Regions from separate parts of the Homo sapiens genome. Here all the other regions are linked to region 1. Evidence: promoter capture Hi-C in 16 types of primary human blood cells and fetal thymus (Javierre and others, 2016). All regions are on one chromosome and are shown on one strand. The core of a region is centred on a gene start or on the middle of the fragment in contact, and the rest is flanking DNA. Distances in the headings are between cores, read along the strand shown. Region 1 holds the start of CD274 (CD274 molecule). Region 2 overlaps RCL1 (RNA terminal phosphate cyclase like 1). Region 3 overlaps RCL1 (RNA terminal phosphate cyclase like 1).

Region 1 (4,646 bases), core at 1-2,500:
CCTCAAAAGTGATTTGAAAGAAGGAACATCTGAGCTGGGCCCAAACCCTATTGCAATTTTATTGGGGCCAAAGAGAACTCCATGCTCCTGCCAAATCAAGGCAGTGTCAGCCTCAATAATTTCCCAGATAAAAATAAAAATCTGTGATACAATCAGAATGTGAAAATTCTTATTTTGGAAGCAAATGTCATAACCAATGCAAGGGCTATCTCAATATTCATTCATTATGCAGTATTTTGAACTGCAGTTGAAATGAATAAGAAGGAAAGGCAAACAACGAAGAGTCCAATTTCTCAATTTAGAAAAAGAGAAAAAAAAGAAAAGGGAGCACACAGGCACGGTGGCTCAAGCCTGTAATATCAGCACTTTGGCGGATCACTTGAGGTCAAGGAGTTCGAGAAAAGAGAGCACCTAGAAGTTCAGCGCGGGATAATACTTAAGTAAATTATGACACCATCGTCTGTCATCTTGGGCCCATTCACTAACCCAAAGCTTTCAAAAGGGCTTTCTTAACCCTCACCTAGAATAGGCTTCCGCAGCCTTAATCCTTAGGGTGGCAGAATATCAGGGACCCTGAGCATTCTTAAAAGATGTAGCTCGGGATGGGAAGTTCTTTTAATGACAAAGCAAATGAAGTTTCATTATGTCGAGGAACTTTGAGGAAGTCACAGAATCCACGATTTAAAAATATATTTCCTATTATACACCCATACACACACACACACACCTACTTTCTAGAATAAAAACCAAAGCCATATGGGTCTGCTGCTGACTTTTTATATGTTGTAGAGTTATATCAAGTTATGTCAAGATGTTCAGTCACCTTGAAGAGGCTTTTATCAGAAAGGGGGACGCCTTTCTGATAAAGGTTAAGGGGTAACCTTAAGCTCTTACCCCTCTGAAGGTAAAATCAAGGTGCGTTCAGATGTTGGCTTGTTGTAAATTTCTTTTTTTATTAATAACATACTAAATGTGGATTTGCTTTAATCTTCGAAACTCTTCCCGGTGAAAATCTCATTTACAAGAAAACTGGACTGACATGTTTCACTTTCTGTTTCATTTCTATACACAGCTTTATTCCTAGGACACCAACACTAGATACCTAAACTGAAAGCTTCCGCCGATTTCACCGAAGGTCAGGAAAGTCCAACGCCCGGCAAACTGGATTTGCTGCCTTGGGCAGAGGTGGGCGGGACCCCGCCTCCGGGCCTGGCGCAACGCTGAGCAGCTGGCGCGTCCCGCGCGGCCCCAGTTCTGCGCAGCTTCCCGAGGCTCCGCACCAGCCGCGCTTCTGTCCGCCTGCAGGTAGGGAGCGTTGTTCCTCCGCGGGTGCCCACGGCCCAGTATCTCTGGCTAGCTCGCTGGGCACTTTAGGACGGAGGGTCTCTACACCCTTTCTTTGGGATGGAGAGAGGAGAAGGGAAAGGGAACGCGATGGTCTAGGGGGCAGTAGAGCCAATTACCTGTTGGGGTTAATAAGAACAGGCAATGCATCTGGCCTTCCTCCAGGCGCGATTCAGTTTTGCTCTAAAAATAATTTATACCTCTAAAAATAAATAAGATAGGTAGTATAGGATAGGTAGTCATTCTTATGCGACTGTGTGTTCAGAATATAGCTCTGATGCTAGGCTGGAGGTCTGGACACGGGTCCAAGTCCACCGCCAGCTGCTTGCTAGTAACATGACTTGTGTAAGTTATCCCAGCTGCAGCATCTAAGTAAGTCTCTTCCTGCGCTAAGCAGGTCCAGGATCCCTGAACGGAATTTATTTGCTCTGTCCATTCTGAGAACCCAAAGGAGTCCTAAAAGAGGAATGGAGGAGCCTAAGAATAAAAATAGTATAATAAAACATTTCTTAGACACATTGACCTTGGCCTATGTCAAAGTTCAGTCTGGGTTTGTCTTATAACACAAGGAGTAAAAGTACCATTGTTCTACCTCTTTTTTTAATACTTGAAAAAAATTTACTGTGGATGCTTTTCTATGAATTAAATAACCTTCTAAAAAATGTTTTCATTGCTGCATTCGATTAGATTGGGTAACTAAATGAAATTAATTCCTCACTGTTGGGTATAAAGGTTATTTACAGTGGTTCTGTCTTAGCCATTCACTGAACTCATTGCATATATATCTCTGGAATATTGCTGATTGTTTCCTTCAAGTAAACTTAGAAGTGTAACTACTTAGTCAAAGAGCCTGAATATTTTAAAGGCCTTTTGAAGAAAACTGAAAATGCTTTCCAGAAAGGATGTATCAGTTGACAATGACAGTCGTCAACAGTATTTAAGGAGAACTATGATACTCTGAAGAAAAACTTAGCCTTTCTCAGTAAAAGTAGGTAGGCAGAGGCCACATGACAGCAGTTAGAGTGTGGTCTTCAAGGAAGTCACAGAAATACTGTGGGGAATTGAAACCCCATGTGGAAAATGTACAAGAGTGTCTCAGTGTGACTGAGAAGGAGGTTGGGCATGGGGTTTCATGGAGTTTAATAAAGTTTGGTCACTTAGTAGAGGTTTAATAAATCAACTGTCTTAATCTTTGATCCTACTTAAGAATTTTTTTTTTGTTTTTGTAGAGATGGGGCTCTTGTTATGTTGCCCAGGCTGTTCTCGAACTCCTAGCCTCAGGCGATCCTCCCTCCTCAGGCTCCAGAAGTCCTGGGATTACTGGCGGGAGCCACCATGCAGGCCTCTTGCTCCTACTTTTGAGAAAGGAAGTTTAACCGGTTTTTTTTGTCTTTTTTTTTTTTTTTTTGAGACAGAGTCTCACTCTGTTGCCCATGCTGGAGTGCAGTGGTGCAATCTCAGCTCACTGCCTCCCGGGTTCAAGTGATTCTCCTGCCTCAGCCTCCCGAGTAGCTGGGACTACAGGCACCTGCCACCACGCCCAGCTAATTTTTGTATTTTTAGTAGAAATGGGGTTTCACCATATTGGCCAGGCTGATCTCGAACTCCTGACCTCAGGTGATCCGCCTGCCTCGGCCTCCCAAAGTGCTGGGATTACAGGCATGAGCCACTGCTCCTGGCTGCTTAACTTTTTCTCTATCTCATCCTCCTACCCATCCTACCCTTGGAAGATAGAGAAGTAGTATTAGTTCCATAGTGTTATACTGGGCTTCCCCCAGGGACAAACCCACTTCCCCAACCTGAATGAGCCATCACTTCTTCCCCAGTTTACATTTCATTGCTCTTTAAATGTCTCCATTCGGATATGGGAATTCACATATGGTCATAATTCTTACCTGAAGAAGATGTCAGTCTTCTTCTCTTAGACCAACTGCCCTGATATGAGGTTTAGAGGTTAAAGAACATGTGTGTATTTACATGATCTTTGTATTCTGCCTTTTCGTCCCTCACTAATGACAGCTGCACCCCAAGGAAATGGAGCTGTGGAAGAGAGGGTTTGATAAGAAATTAAGTAAATATTGGATCTAATCCATCACCCTCCAGGAAGCCTTTATTACTCCTAAAAATTTCAACCAAATTCATTAAAGGACAAGAACTCCACCAGAGTAGGCCATAAACATTGGCAAAATTAGTTGTAATCCATGACTAGATTTAATGTCCCTTTGTTTTATTCCCATATGGTTATAATGCTTTGCTTGGCATTAGGGGTATTTTAAGTTTTCTTCTGCCTAGTAAGTGAATTTGTGTTTATAATACAATAATCATAAAATATCACATTAATATTTTATAACTGTACAGTTATAAAATATTTTATAAGTAATATTTATATTTTATAAGTAATATTTTATAACTGTACAGTTAACTCTGGCCCAAGGAAAAGATAGTCTGATAGATGCTGCAGCCCCATTTTAGCAAATGTGACCTCACAGGCCTGAATGCCATCGCTATTCCACATCTACAGGATAGACGGAAAGGAAAGAAATAAAAAAATAGGTACCTAACACTGGCAAGAGGATGATGACTCATGTTATTTCACTTAACCTTTTTATCTTTTAACATGAAGGACTCATACAGGTTGATAAGAAACCAGTGACATAAACAGACCAAAAAATGATCAGATCTTTCAAATTAGCAAAAAAATAATATTTTTTAAACAATGGGTGAAAATACAGTGTAACAGTACCAATTATCAACATGTGTTGAGAACCAGAAAAATGTTCTTTTTCTTTGATCAGCAACACTATTTGGGAAAATCTATCCTCAGGGCCTAGCCTGGGGCCCTGGCACACAGTAGGCACTCAACGAATATTTGCTGAACACACAAATACTTATGATATTTTAAAAAATTGGCAACAATCTGATACCTAACAATAGAGGGATTAAATATTATGGAACTGTTAAATAAGATGCTTATGAATACCATGCAGTAAGATGGGCAATATTTATGCCATAAGCTTTAATGAAACAAATGGGTATTAAATGTATGATAAGGTTATAAATTACTTTTTAAAAGATTACAGGGAAAAAAATTGAAAGATATACACTGAAATGTTTTTTGCTCACAGTGGTGACAAGGTTTCTCAGCACTGGCACTGTTGACGTTTTAGGCTGTATGTCTTTGCTGTGGGAGGCTGGCCTGTGCACTGCAGGGTGTTTGGCAGCACTCTTGGCCTCTGCCCCTAGATAGCAATAGCAGTCCTCCCTCAACCAGCCCAATTTTGACAACCAAAAATGTTTCCAGG
Region 2 (4,646 bases), core at 722-3,221, 630 kb before region 1:
AAGTAATATCCCATTAGATTGCTGGTGGAGCTATTTTTTTTTTTTTTTTTTTTTTACAATGTGAAAGCTGAATTGTTTCTAAGTTCTACTAAACATATATGTACCAGTCAGTGCTTTTCAACTGCGTCAGGTTCCTCAACCTGTGAACCTACCCAGTCCTTTAGGAAAGCCCAGGTGTGATGCAGGAAGTAACCTGCCCTCTACCACAGTACCTGAATCAGGCATGTGCTCTGGAAATGTTGACCTGACATGAGGACAGTCTGTCTTCTCTTTTCTTCACAGATTTTTTTTCTTCACAGATTTTGAAGCCAGCTTCATAAGGCTATTGGACAAAATAACGAATGGTTCTCGAATTGAAATAAACCAAACAGGTAAGCTCCTTTTAGATTCCTAAAAGCACCTCCATGCACTAAAGCATTCCTGTTTCTCACTCTTTTTTTTCTTTCCTTTTTTTTTCTAGTCAGTCTCTGCTTATCCAAATCACTCTTTTTAATGGTATAAATATTATGTTTAAAGCTTTACTAATCACTTTGTATTATATAAATCACCATTAAATTAGAATTTTGGGGGGACTTATATGAGGAACTCACCATATAACTTTGGAGTTATATGAGGAAGCTGTGAGTGTAGATCATAATAAAAGCATATCATTCTAGATCATTTTAAAAAATACCGTGTTCCGATGGAAAGACCCAGTTACCTCTCTGTGATATGATTTTCCAGAGACATACATGAAGTCTCCCAATTTGAAGGGCGTACATTTGATTTAAGGAAGTTAGAAGACTGAAAATTTCAGCAAAGTCTCTCCTCTTTTTTTAACAATAAATATTTTATACATAATGTTTACATGAAACTTTCCAAAGTCCATTTACTTATATTATCACATTAAATTATTTCAGCCAACTCTGTGAGGTAGTTTATGGGCTGAATTCTATTTATTTTAAATTTTGTTTGTTAAAATAAGTTTACACAAGTATATGCAAAAGATGTGAACATCCCTTCACCTCTTTCCTCTTCCATTCCCCTCTCCAGGGGTAGCCACTGTCACAGCATTTGCTTACATGGACATTTGCATAATTCAGACCATCAGCAACATCATGCTCTTCATATTGTTCTTCAGCCAGCATTTTTTTTTTTTTTTTTTTTTGCTAGTACAAATGTCTCAGAGAACTTTCCCTTCCAGCACATGCAGGTCTTCCTTAATATTTCTGTGGGTTGTAGTATAGTATTCCAGTGTATTGATGCATGATAATTTATTTAACTGCTCCCCATTGATAAACATTTAGGTTGTTTCTAGCTTTTATTTTTTCTATTAGAAACTTGTGTCTACATTGTATGGAAAACTGTGGCAAACATCCGTTGGCTGACTCCATTAACTCTCTACCTTTCCGCACACATTCCACAAATAAATCTCTGACCTTTTCCCTATCTTGGCTCTCTTAAGGCAAGCTTGGGTTCATATGTGGTCCTATACCACATGAGATATTCTGATCTATAGCTGCATTCAGCCATATCTTATGGAGAACAGGTTTCGGGAATGAGATACTCACATGTCTTTTGCCAGCTATGAGTCCCTTAATTTCCTTTAGCTTGTTTGCTTTGAAATTGCTGGAGGTTTTTTCAGTAACTTTCATTGGTGATCCAGAAGACGGATAATTCTATTCTTTTTTTGTGTCTGTGTGAGACGGAGTCTTGTTCCGTCAACTAGGCTGGAGTGCAGTGGTGCGATCTTGGCACATGGCGACTTCTGCCTCCCGGGTTCAAACGATTCTCCTGCCTTAGCCTCCCCAGTAGCTGGGATTACAGTTGCCTGCTGCCATACCTGGCTCATTTTTTTTTTTTTTTTAGTAGAGACAGGGTGATCTGTCGGGTGATCCATCCACCTCAGCCTTCCAAAGTGTTGGGATTACAGGCATGAGCCACAGTGCGTGGCCCAAGTCTATTCTTTTCTAGTCATACTGGCAATGTAGATTGAGGAGTAAGACATTTACATGATTCTGCTCCCACTACATGTCCTTTTAATTTTCCGCATCAGAGTAGTAAAAGCCTTCATTCTGATGATCTGGCCAGTTTCTCATTTGGCTAATTTGTATAAATAAACATACGGATTTGAAGCATTTAGTGAATATATAGTCTTTTTATGGTTTTTTGATCTAAAGGATGGTTTTGTGGCCCTTACAACTATTTCAGATAACTGACCCAGAGTCCATTTGAGAAGTGTTCATTACTTTGATCAGAATATGGTCCTGATTGTGATTGTTTGGATTCTAGTGTTTAATGTAGTAAAACCTACATTTATTTTATGAAAGTCCCAAGAACTTTTTCCCATTTGAGTGACTGAACATGCCTCCTTCCTCTAATGTTAAATATATTTTTGGTAAATTGTGCCAGAGGGCATTGCAAAAGATTTTGTGCAGCAGAAATACCTTGTTCAACCATTTATGTCCCCCTATGTCATTTACAGTTTTTTACATTGATATGTAAATCTAGTAAGAAGCTTTTTGGAGAGCCAGGCATGGTGGTTCATGCCTGTAATCCCAGCACTTTGGGAAGATGAGATGGGAGTAAGAAGCTTTTTGGATAGCCAGGCACAAGGTGGTTCATGTCTGTAATCCCAGCACTTTGGGAAGCTGAGCCTAGGAGTTTCAGACTAGCCTGGGCAATATAGTGAGACCCTTTCTCAAAAAAAAAAAATGATTAGCTGAGTGTGGTAGCATGTGCCTAGGGTCTCAGCACTTTGGGAGGCTGAGGTGGGAGGATCACTTGAGCCCAAGAGTTCAAGACTATCCTGGACAACATAGTGAGACCCTTTCTCTAAAATAAAGAAAAAAAAGAAAGAAAGAAAGAAAGAAAAAGAAAAAAAAAATTAGCTGGTCGTGGTCCCAGCTATTCTGGAGGCTGAGATGGGAGGATTGCTTGGCTCTGGAGGTTGAGCTGCAGCAAGCTGTGATCATGCCGCTGTACTCCAGCTTGGGGGACAGAGCAAGACCCTGTCTCAAAACAAAACAAAGCTTTTTGAATGATACGATTATGTGAGAAGTGAATAAAGATAGTAGTTTCCACTAAAGCCGTAAAATAATATTAGGCATGTCCCTGTATCAATATTAAATTAAAAGACCTACTATTAATGGCACTGAATGCCATAAAGTACTTGCCTTTTCTTGGCATCATGTTTGGTGAATGAGGTATATGAGAAATATCATTTCAGGGGCCCTAGAGGATGCTGGTTGCTGGTGTGATGATTTAAGCACATCATTTGTAATTCCCCTCTGTGGTCAGCCTAGTCTGAGAATGTGCTGTTGGGAGACTAGGGTGCTTATTAGGATCTCTTTTCTGTGCCCTGCCATGACTCTGGCAACTCAGATGGCTCAGAGAGGGGTTTACTTTATTACTGATTATTAAATTACATTCACAGTTTATTATTGTTACAGGGGCTTGACAGTAGTGAGTCAGCTTTTGGAGCGAAGTGTGGGCTCTTAGCAAGATGGCATTTCGAGCACTCTTGGATGCCCTTGTCAGGCTTTCCCCTTGGAACTCACTGCCTTCATTACCTTTGTGACATTTTAGTTTTTTTCCTGCTGAATGTGGCTCTTTTTCTTCTGGTTTAAGGAACAACCTTATATTATCAGCCTGGCCTCCTGTATGGTGGATCTGTGGAACATGACTGTAGCGTCCTTCGTGGCATTGGGTATTACCTGGAGAGTCTTCTTTGCTTGGCTCCATTTATGAAGCACCCGTTAAAAATAGTTCTACGAGGAGTGACCAATGATCAGGTTGACCCTTCAGTGAGTATTGAGAACAAACCGTGGTGTGGTTTTTGTTTTGTCTCTTGTCACAACCCAACTTGTGAGAAAAAAGTTCCTTATAAGGCACAGTTTTATTACAAATGTATATTGCTTTTGTTATTTACTTTGAGATTTAGAGGTTAATCACTCCAGGAGGCAGATGAACCAAAACTTAGGATCATCAAATTCAGGACTATTGTTAACAGTTACCAAGGTGCCTTTTGTTGTTACCTAAGAACCTTCAAAACAGATGCTCTCCGTCTCATCATAGTTGACATGAACTATAGTTCTGCTGGCTGTATATGTGAGAGTGGAGTTTTTGTAAGATCCTGTGGTAGCTGAGGCTGGAGGGCAGCTGACCAAAATTTTGGGCAGGAGATCATAGCTCCTTGGCATTGTTACAGCGTAATCTTGACTTACCCAGGCTTCAATCATAAACTCAAGGGCTTTCTTCTTCTGAGAAGAGTTTGCAGATTAGGAAAAGGGCATAAAGTCAGGAAAGGAATGTGTGAGCTTTGGTAGTTTGTGGGTGTCAGCAAGCTTTTGATTTTTATTTTATTTTTTTTCACCAAGGGTCATGCCAGAGCAAGCTTTTTATTAAACATGCTAATTTTTCTGCAGATATGGGGAGAATGGTTTAATATCAAGCAAAACTTTTTATTGTGATCACAACTGTCTTAATGCCATTCTAGGATGAAGTGTGTGTGTGTGTGTGTGTGTGTGCACGCGTGTGTGTGTGTGTGTGTGAGAGAGAGAGAGATTAGAGAAGTCTAGAGAAGTCCTGTCCAGGCCTCCCTCCCTTGTAGGAAGGGGTGGATTCCCTGCTTTTGGATGCTCTGCTGTCAGAGAAGATATCTTAAA
Region 3 (4,646 bases), core at 582-3,081, 600 kb before region 1:
CCTAAAATTGAGTAATCCTAAATGGCGTGGTAACATCAGTAGTAAACAATGCTAAAATAGACTTGGTAGTTAAGTACTTGGAGAGGAGATGAGGGCTGGAAGAATGGCACCCTAGGTACAGAGACTCGCTTCCTGTAGAGAGCTCACTGGAGGCGGCTGCCAGCTGTGTGGCCACTGTGGCCCCACCGGCTTTGTAGCTGGGCTCGTAGCTGCCGTTTCCCAGCCCTTGCTTCAGGCCTGGGGAAGTCCTGCTTGCACACACGGTATGAGGTATGGGGTGTTGTCTTGAATGTGTGTGGTCCTGGGGCATGGGGTTTGGCAGAACATTCTGTGAAAATGGAATACATATATGTTTTTTTTCGTGACACTTTTTTTCTTTTGCTTTTGGAGATTTTTCAATTTGGCTCCAGGACCTGTATGATGTTTTCAAGCTTTGCAGAGATGCTCAAGATATGACTGGACATTTTTGAAAGTTCCTGTGTCCTCTTCAACACATCTTCTCACCAAACATTAATTGTAGTGTCTTTTCTTCCAGAAAACTTGCATAAAATGACTTCCTCTCCTGTGAAAACAGTGTCCTGCTCTGAATGGAGCTTTAAAGGAGTAGCACAAATTGTAAGATGATGTATCTTGAGGCTGGGGCTTAGAGATATTCTGCTGCCTCCCAGAGCTTTGTGCAGACGGGTCTGCCAGGGTGGGAAAGGGAAGCCTCCGTTCTTTTTGGTAAGCTAGCATAAAGACAGGTAAGGGAGTCTATTTTCAAGAAAGCTGGATCTGTTTCATACTCTTTCTGCCCCTAATCACTATGGACAGCTCCAGCAGCACAAAGAGATGAAGGGCAAAGGCAGGATGCAGCAGGCAAAGTTAACATTGTATTTGTGAGTACAGTTGAGGATAAAAAAGGGATGAAATCCACGGTGAGGACCATCATGGTGGGGGAATAGTTTATTCTAATGGATTCAAGAGCTTTGGAGACCAAACTAACACATTTATTTTTATGTGTAGTTAAAGTCATAGAAACCTGTTTTGTGAAACCTCAGATTTCTAAAGAAAACCAGAAGCAAGACCTTCCTTGGTTTAAAAAAAAAAAAGCATTTCTTCAAGCAGTTTGGACCTGTTTTTCGTGTGTATAAAACAGCTTTTTAAATGTCTATGTAAAGAGCATTGGGATTGCTGTTGGTGGTTTTCTGTGCTACTTGAGAAAGTAAGTCTGTATGTGTGAAACTCTTTTTTTTTTTTTGAGACAGAGTTTCGCTCTGTCGCCCAGGCTAGAGGGCAGAGGCGCAATCTCCGCCCACTGCAAGCTCCGCCTCCCGGGTTCAACGCCATTCTCCTACCTCAGCCTCCCGAGTAGCTGGGACTACAGGCACCCGCCACCGTGCCTGGCTAATTTTTTGTATTTTTAGTAGAGACGGGGTTTCACCATGTTAGCCAGGATGGTCTCGATCTCCTGACCTCGTGGTCCACCCGCCTTGGCCTCCCAAAGTGCTGGGATTGCAGGCCTGAGCCACCAAGTCCGGCCAATGTGAAACTCTTTTAGAAAGGCCCAAGAGATTTTTTTTCAGTAGAATAAAATACTGTTGGATAATCACTGGTATATGAAGATTCTATTTCTGTTAAATTTGTTGAGTTTTAGGTGGCTTACAGTTAGTGACAGTAGTTGCACCCTCCATTCAACAAGCTTAATTTTACAGTTTAGGGAGGGAGGATTTATACTTTTGGATTAACAGCAAGAAAAATAGCAAAAATTAAGATGCATCTTAATTAGCACTTTCAGAAATTATTTGTGGAATGAGACTGCAGTTACCAGAGCTCTCTGCATTCTGCCAGTGCACAAGTCTTGGAGTCCAGCCTATCTGGACTTAAGGCTCTACCACGCGCTACCAGGAGACCGTGGAAATGGTATTTAGCATCTTGGAGCCTTGGTGTCATTTGTAGATAAGGTGCGTGGTCCTGAAGTCCTGGACTTGTGGAGATGGAACGAAGCTTAGATTAAGTCAGATGCTTAGTGCTCCTGGCAACGTGCCTGAGGAGCTGTCAGTGCTGGGTGCTGTGGTTCCTGCCTGGACACCCCTTCACCCTGCTGCAGTCCAGTCCCTTGGTCAGGTCACTTTTTTTTTTTTTTAACTGCTCCTTGAGGAGCAGGACTACCCCAGAGGCAGTGTGGCTAGAGTAGCCCGGTCAGGTCACTTTGAACCCCAGGAGGCCTAGTAAACTTGCTTTGGGTGATTTTAGGGTTTAAGTCATCTGTAAGTGGTCTGCCCAGCTACCTATAAATCTATATCCATTAATTTTAAATTATGGATTAAAAAATTTTAATTTCTAGTTATTATTTTTATGACTGACTTCCCCTAGTCACATTACTGAGCAAACTACACACATCTTATTGATCCTAAGAATTCTGTAAGGTAGATGTTTATTTAAACAACACCGTGTTTACTGTGTGCAAGATGTTGTTTTAAGCACTCAGACATAATAACTTATCTGGTTTTCATCATAACTTCATAAGGGCAAAAAAGGCAAGTACTATCATGTGCACCGTCTTACAGGTGATGGGATTGAGGCACAGCGAGGTCAAGTTACGTGCCCAGGGTCACACAGACAGTAAGTGGGGTTCAGACCTGGACAGTCTCCTCCAGTCACTGCTTCCCTTACCCACTGTGCTCTTTTTTTTTTTTTTTTTGAGACGGAGTCTCCTCTGTCGCCCAGGCTGAGTGCAGTGGCGCGATCTCAGCTCACTGCAAGCTCTACCTCCCAGGTTCGTGCCATTCTCCTGCCTCAGCCTCCTGAGTAGCTGGGACTACAGGCGCCCGCCACCATGCCCGGCTAATTTTTTGTATTTTTAGTAGAGACGGGGTTTCATCGTGTTAGCCAGGATGATCTCGATCTCCTGACCTGGTGATCCACATGCTTCGGCCTCCCAAAGTGCTGGGATTACAGACGTGAGCCACCGTGCCCGGCCAACCCATTGTGCTCTTATGTAAGAGCTGGGATTCCATCCATATCGCTGGACTCCAAGCACCTTGCCTGAGGCAGGATGCCATGCTACATCTTTTCAGCAAAGTCCTCGTTTCAAATTCTGCTGTAAAATGATCTCTTTCTATCTTTAGTTGGAAATCTAAAATAAACCGTGACTTTTTTTTTTCTAACTTTAGTTAATGACCTTTTTCCATGACTGTGGAAGTGCTGAGGAGCTAGAGGACACTGTCCTTGTTAAACACCAACTGAGTGGGGCTTCCTAGCCCACTCAGCCTAAAGCTCAGCCCTCTGAAGAACCAATGAGGAAACCAGTGGGGAAACTGGGAACTGCCGGCCAAGCCTGCCTCTACTTGGGGTCAGTGGCCTCACTGCATTCCATGAGCTTGCACAGTACCACTATGTCTTAGTTTTGTGAAGCGTTTAAATTCTGTAAAGCCCTGTCACCTGATGTTTGAGCCCTAGAACATAATTGGTGTATGGTAAAAGCAAGTGATAGCCTTCCTTCTCAGATAAAAAAGAGGTCACTGACCTGCTTATGGTGAGATCCTGTCTGAACTGGGCCTGGGACCCCATCTCCTGACAGTGCAGCTAGCCTAGTTCTCTGTTTCCTGCTGCCTCAGTAACTGAATGTAGTAATTTCATTTGGAGCAGAGGTCAGCTTGTCTTTGGAAAAGCCTCTATTCAGCAGAAAAAGCATCAGCAGTATATTTAAAAGCTGCCATGTAATGACTATAGGGACTCCATTGAGCAGATCCTTTTCTTATCTCCAGATCTTTTCCCTCAACTTCCAGAGCATGTCCTTACACCTGAGATGTAGGTACCCCCAGCTCTGTCCCATATCCAGTGGCATAGTAACCAGGTGGCTTAGTGGAGGAGGACGCAGGACCCTCTGTTGTGGTTTGTGCCTGTGGGGGCTGCCAGAGAGAGGGCTCACCCCATGATTGCCTTCACCCCAATCTCTCACATGCTTCAAAAGAGGGGTCTGGTGGGAGGGGCTGTGTTTAAGGGTGGGATCTGGCAGCCTGTCAAATCCTGGTCAGTTGGGATTCAACGGACCCATGACCACAAGCCTCATGGCCTTTCCTGTTGACCAGCAGTGGCAGTGGGAACAACTCACCTTTTGAAAATACATAGGAAGGCCGGGTGCGGTGGCTCACACCTGTAATCCCAGCACTTTGGGAGGCCGAGGCGGGTAGATCACGAGGTCAGGAGTTCAAGACCAGCCTGGCCAACATGTGAAACCCCGTCTCTACTAAAAATACAAAATTAGCCGGGCGTGGTGGCACATGTCTCTAATCCCAGCTACTCGGGAGGCTGAGGCAGGAGAATCACTTGAACCTGGGAGGCAGAGGTTGCAGTTAGCTGAGATCGCACCATTGCACCCCAGCCTGGGTGACAGAGCAAGACTCCGTCTCAAAAAAAAAAAAAAAAAAAAATAGGAAAAGTTATCTCTGTGCTCCAGAATTCTCTGAAACCTGCTTGTCAGATGGACTAGAGGCTTTCGTAGAAAAGTCAGTTGCTTTTTGTTTTCTGAAAATCATTTTGTCCCGGGGAAAAAAAAAGCCTCACTGCAGATAATCATTCTCTATGTTAGGTGTTAAAATCCTTTACACAGGAGTTGCATAGAGCCCCTACTGCCTAGAATGGTTCTTCTGAAAAGCTGCTAT

The links. The method cuts DNA at HindIII sites, captures the fragments that hold promoters and counts their contacts. A CHiCAGO score of 5 or more calls a contact.
Region 2: a fragment that was not itself captured here is called in contact with the fragment with the promoter of CD274 in region 1 in 1 of 17 cell types (erythroblasts); the score reaches 5.5 in erythroblasts.
Region 3: a fragment that was not itself captured here is called in contact with the fragment with the promoter of CD274 in region 1 in 1 of 17 cell types (erythroblasts); the score reaches 5.8 in erythroblasts.

Annotation. Positions count from the first base shown.
Region 1 is chr9:5,449,292-5,453,937 of GRCh38, forward strand. CD274 (CD274 molecule) reads left to right here and starts at 1,251. Exons shown (of 7, transcript NM_014143.4): 1 at 1,251-1,305. RefSeq lists enhancers at 1,028-1,077, 1,368-1,527. The HindIII fragment of the contact is 3,244 bases long and covers 1,113-4,356 here.
Region 2 is chr9:4,823,249-4,827,894 of GRCh38, forward strand. RCL1 (RNA terminal phosphate cyclase like 1) reads left to right here. Exons shown (of 9, transcript NM_005772.5): 2 at 300-371; 3 at 3,610-3,785. Among named protein-coding and RNA genes, the nearest start is that of MIR101-2, 25 kb to the right of the region's middle. The HindIII fragment of the contact is 1,048 bases long and covers 1,448-2,495 here.
Region 3 is chr9:4,850,659-4,855,304 of GRCh38, forward strand. The region is part of intron 8 of RCL1 (RNA terminal phosphate cyclase like 1); the gene reads left to right. It overlaps LOC124902113 (a long non-coding RNA gene), which reads left to right. Exons shown (of 2, transcript XR_007061402.1): 1 at 1-2,604; 2 at 3,156-4,646. Among named protein-coding and RNA genes, the nearest start is that of MIR101-2, 2.7 kb to the left of the region's middle. The HindIII fragment of the contact is 305 bases long and covers 1,680-1,984 here.